2 separate regions of the Homo sapiens genome follow, and region 2 is linked to region 1. The links are contacts of gene promoters, found by promoter capture Hi-C in human tissues and cell types (Jung and others, 2019). All regions are on one chromosome and are shown on one strand. Each heading gives the region's core, a stretch centred on a gene start or on the middle of the fragment in contact. The rest is flanking DNA. Distances are from core to core; before and after follow the strand shown.

Region 1 (2,700 bases), core at 148-2,647:
TTCTTAACGGTGCATTTTCCTTGGTGAGACAAACGTGTCCAAGAGGAAGGCTGAGGTTTCCCAACAATTACTTTTTTCAATGACCCTGCTACTTGCAAGTACATCTGCAGACTCTATCTGCCAAGGACTATCTAGCTAGAAACTTGGTTATTTGCTACTCTTTCTAATCAATGCTCTGCCCATTGATGAGCCAAAACAAGAAAATACACAACCCTGATTACTGCAATTTTCATATTCTTAAAACTTACAAGAAATTATGGATTTACTGATCAGATATCTGCAAAGATGAGTATCTTTTCCAGAAAAATATCTACATCTCTATTAATAAAGTGACTGGTATAAAATTCAACTTGAAAACCTGTGTTCTGATCTGGATCAGTATCCAAGCCCTCCAGGTCTTACAGCACCCCTGGGGATTCTAATGATTATAGCAAGCTTTACAGACCCTTCCCAAATCTCTATTATTTTTAAAATGACATGCAGCGAAGCACTTTCAATACGTTTGTGGGAGGTGAAGAAACGCAGAAAAGCGGGAATCATTGGCCTAGTCTGGTGCCAAGAGAGACTCATCAGAGGAGGGGGGATGTGGTATGTGCAAGTAAGAGGCAGGTGATGACTGCGATGGGACACCAGAGTCCGGTATTTACCAAGCTCCCAGAAGGAGACGCACAGTCAGGTGCTTCGGTGTTTTTACAGGTTTCCACCCTTCGGCTGCACAACGGAACCATCCAAAAGGAGCTTAAATTTTTTTTTTTTTTTCTGAAGCCCGAATCCCATCCCCTAGACATTCTGATTCAATGGATCGGGGTGGGGGTGGGCATCGGCATGTTTTAAAGCACCTGGCCACAGGTGATTCTAATAGGCGGAAGTCGCGCACTACTATCCTAAACGCCAATGGTTTTTAACCCTTTGGGGATTACACATGCCTTTGAGAATCTGAGGGAAATTAGGGACTCCCCCTCCAGAAAATGAAGGATGCATATATGAACTTATCCATAATTTTTTTATACAACTTTAGTAGCTTCACGGATCACTAAACCCCACCCATGAGCCCCAGGCAAAAGGCCCTGACCCCCAGTGTGCGCTTCTTCCTAAGAGGGCGAGGCGCCTTTGGGGAGCCGGATCTCCGCTCTCCCCCTCTCAACCCTCCTCCCGTCTGAAACGCAACAAGGTCGAGCCGCGCGGTGGGGGCGCCGAGGGTCGCGGGTAACCCCAGCGGGGGAGGGGAGCCCCGGCGTCCGGGTTTCCCGACGCGACCGCCTCACCCGGCGATGAGGAAGATGATACGCAACGGCTCGGTGGCGATGGTGAAGACATAAAGGGCGAGCGCAGGCCCGAAGGCAATGAAGGCGCAGCCGAAGAACACGGCCGCAGTCATGGCCACCGCGGAAACCGACCCGGGGGCCCGTTGGGGACGCGAGATGCTCCCGGCGCGGGCGGGGTTCGGTGGGTGGGGCTCGGGGTGGGGGGCTAAGCGGGACGCGGGGGGCGGGGCGCGGCTCATGGGCAGGCACGGGGACGGGGGCGGGGCTCGGGGGCGGGGCACGTGGGGGCGGGGGCGGGGCTCGGAGGCGGGGTACGTGGGTCGCGGGGCGAGGCGGGGCGTGGGGGTAAACGCTAGGGCCTGGGGGACTGGGCGGGGCGTGGGCTGAGGGCGCCGGGCGCAGGGGCGGGCTCAAGGCGGTGAGCGCGGACCCCACCGTTGGGCCCTCCGCCCTACCGGGTGTCCGGAAGCGCCAGGGCCACGCCGCAGCTCCTGCTCCCGAGGCGGGCGTCCTCGGCGACGTTAGGGCCCCAGCCATCGCCGCAGCCCCACAGATACACTCCGATCGGGTTCCAGTGCCGGCCGCGAGGTGGTTAAGAGAAGGGAAGCTCCCTAGCCCACCTTCGAGCCGCATGCACCGAGAACAGGCAGAGATTCCAAGTCAACCAAAGAGACTAAACAAAAATGTAGCGCAGGAACAAGCAGGATTCCTTTTTAAATAGGTTTTTTTTTTTTTTTAAGCACATTTTACCGTTTGGATAGTTGCGGGAACTTCGTACTCCATCCTGTATAAAACCTAGGCTGGGATAGCAGTGACCCCGGGGATAACCCACAGATGGTAAAATGATGAAAGAGTGGTGGAAGAAGCTGCCCTTCTCAGGGCTGTTTCAGCCAAATGGTTTTTATTTTTTTCCCAATTCTTCAAAAGGGTTGTTTTTGCAGGCATTCTGTGACCACCCTACAAGCAATAGTAACATCTCCCTGCTCCGTCTTCTCACAGTCGTCCATTTCACTTGCTTATTTTTCTTCCCCGTTAAAACGCGAACTCCTGGGGGACAGGGACTTTGCTTTGCTCTTTGTTGTTTCCTCAGCACCTAGAAGTTCACTAATATCTGTTCAATAAGTGAAATAATTTAAAAGGTGGAAGTTATAAACATCTATATTAACAATTTCTGAAAGGTTTAAAAATTAAAACTTAAGTTCTCTGATCATTCACATCCAAGTTAGATTTTTCTTTATGTTGAATAATACTTCGTCGGTTATTTTGATCAGTGTGCCTGACACAGGTAAGTGCTATGTAAGTATTAACCACTCCTACATAATGTCCATCATGAATAAAGATTTTGGCAATCCACATTTAAAAAAACACCAGTAGACAAATGTTGGGACCTGACAGATGTTTTGCAGCTCGCCCCTGAAAATGCACCTTCAAATAA
Region 2 (2,700 bases), core at 95-2,594, 73 kb before region 1:
CTGCATAGCAGTTTGCTCAAGCCTCTTCATAAAAAACAAAAACACAGGCTGGGTGCGGTGGCTCGCGCCTGTATTCCCAGCACTTTGGGAGGCCAAGGCAGGTGGATCGCTTTAGGTCAGGAGTCTGAGACCAGCCTGGCCAACATGGCGAAACCCCATGTCGACTAAAAATATAAAAAATTAGCTGGGCGTGGAGGCACGCACCTGTAATCCCAGCTACTTGGGAGGCTGAGGCAGAAGAATTGCTTGAACCTGGGAGGCGGAGGTTGCAGTGAGCTGAGATTGCACCACTGCACTCCAGCCTTGGTGACAGAGCAAGACTCAGTCTCAAAAACAAAAACAGAAACAAAAAACAAAATCTTTCACATTACCCTCACCTTACCATAACCACCACGCATACACCCTTCTCTCATCCCTTTATGGCTAAATTTCTGAAATGAGCTTAAAAAAACCCTCCACATCCATTCAAGGATGTGTTCAGACATAAGTAGGGATATGACATAAAGTTCTGGTCTTCCAAAGGTCTTTGAAACTCATATTCTGAGCTCTAGTCTGTAATAAGTTTCTGTACTAGTCTGGCTCTAACAGTCACAGGTGAGGCAGGCTAACAATCATCACTGCTTGCTAGTGTGCACAACCCGAGTAGGCTGGCCGAGAAGTTCAAGTCAGGGACTAGAAAGCACTGGGGTAGCTTTGGCAGGACCTGAGCTGGACTTTGAAGAGTGGACGAAATTTGGAAAGGTGCAGAGGAAAGAAGAGGGCATTTGAGCAGATTTTTTCATAACGGCATTTGTGAAGGTGGGTTGGCATAGCCTGTTCTTAGGCTCAGGGAGCTGGCTGAAGCATGGGGCAGGCTGGGGCGGGATGTGGGGGCCTTTGAAGACTTTGACAGGTTGGGGCACTTCAAGGCCATGAAAAACAGCTAGGCTGTGCTTTGTCTTGTTGGGGTGGGGCAGGGCATGCTAGGGAGAAAGGGAGTGTACGGATGGGTGGTGGGGTGGTGCCACCCAAGCCAGGCTATGACAAGATTGATCTGGTTACTGCAGGAGAGCCAGCCTGGCAGTGTAACAAGGAAGGCTGGGGCTGGTTGCCTGTGGGAAGCCTTTGCAGTGTGACATGGCGAGGGCCTAACCCATGGAAGCATGGGAGTCCATGACCCACTAAGGGCAAAGGATAGACCAAGCTGGCTCTGAGATGTTGAGCCTTGGAGGAGCGGGGCCCAGGTGTTCTCTGATGAGGCATTCCACCATCAAGCTGTAATCTAGGCCATAACACATCCTCTAATTGCAATATTGCAAAAAATATATGGACTGTATGTGAACCCTGAAATTTACAAACTGTTAAAAATTTATGACCTATTTGGAAAAATTTGAATTCTAATTGGATTCGGTAATCTTAAGGTATTAATTCTTAACTCTCTAGGTGTGGTCATGGTACTGTGGTTTTAAGAGCCCTTATGTTTTAGAGAAACATATGAAATATATACAGATGAAATATATCTGGATTTGTTTCCAGTTATCCAGGTAGATAAGGGGAGAATGGGCTTAGCATAGATGAGGCAGGACTGTTTCTGAATTGTAAACTGTCCAAGCTGGGTGACATGGGGTTCATTCCACTCCTCTCTCTACATTGTATACATTTGAAATTTTCTGTAAAAACATTCTGGTCCTTGGATAATGCAGGTCCTACACCCTGGGCCTCAAAATTCCCAATCAGAAATCACGAGAGGCATTTTGAGCTGTGCCATGTTAATCTCTTGTTACCTTTCGAAACAGGAATTCTGACCACTTCTGTTTTGCCTAGAGCAGGAAAAACACATAGACAGGAAAGAAATAATGCCTTGGCTTTATTTAGAAAAACAAACTGTGAAAGACACGTGATCCTCCTGTATCACGATCATGGGAGGAGTCCAACCAACTGGAGAGGCGAAGTCAAAACTCAGAAGAGCAAAGGCAAAGTTTTAGCTGGAAATAAATGCTTCTTTTAGGAGAGTCACTCCCAGTGGAGGATTTCTGGCAGTGGAGCACTTGGCATGAGTGTGAAAGCTGACACTGAGTTGGAAAATGGTAGCCCAGGGTGTAGCGGCCAGCATAAGGCCAGCACTGTGCAGTCACATGTCACAGCTCAGGGAACAGAAAGGCCTGCTGTTGTCACCTCTGATATTGGTTGTCCCGGTGCCCACCCTCATGGCACCTCTATCTCTCACATGCCACAAAGACAGGAGGCTGCTCTGACAGTGTCCCCAGCTATGCAAGGCGGGGACACCCACTAGCCATTACATGCTGGGGGAGGGCCCTATGAACTTCCTTGGCAGGCCGTCTCCCAGGCTACAGGGCAGAAATCAGATTTCTTTTTCAATTAGTGCCCCCAAACAGAAACCATTTGCACACAGGTAAGCTAGAAAGCTAGGAGGGTACATTTTGAACCTGAGCAAGTGATCTCATTTTTCCTCCTCTTTTTTGAGGAGAAGAAATACATGAGGGAATTAAGGTGGGTGCACGTTCCCTGGGAAAGGAACAAGCATGAAACAGGTGTTGAGAGTTCAGCTTAGTAAACATGTGAGGGCCCACTCTGTGCCAGGCACTGTGGGAAGTGCAGCGATGGATGAGCCGTGGTCCTTGTCTTCAAGGACAGCGTGGGGAAGCCAGGAAATTCCAGGTGCACAAAATCTCCTGGATAAATACTGAAGGACACATAAGT

Evidence for each region. Contacts are between HindIII fragments. The study calls those that stand out against the background at their distance.
Region 2: a fragment that was not itself captured here is called in contact with the fragment with the promoter of APH1B in region 1 in 6 of the 25 tissues and cell types used here (IMR-90 fibroblasts, aorta, hippocampus and 3 more).

Annotation. Positions count from the first base shown.
Region 1 is chr15:63,276,302-63,279,001 of GRCh38, reverse strand. APH1B (aph-1B gamma-secretase subunit) reads right to left here and starts at 1,397. Exons shown (of 6, transcript NM_031301.4): 1 at 1,266-1,397. The coding sequence starts at 1,378. LOC124903504 (a long non-coding RNA gene) reads right to left here. Exons shown (of 2, transcript XR_007064674.1): 2 at 2,150-2,700. RefSeq lists silencers at 1,091-1,370, 1,451-1,870. The HindIII fragment of the contact is 12,664 bases long and covers 1-2,700 here.
Region 2 is chr15:63,349,703-63,352,402 of GRCh38, reverse strand. The region is part of intron 2 of CA12 (carbonic anhydrase 12); the gene reads left to right. Among named protein-coding and RNA genes, the nearest start is that of CA12, 31 kb to the left of the region's middle. The HindIII fragment of the contact is 8,588 bases long and covers 1-2,700 here.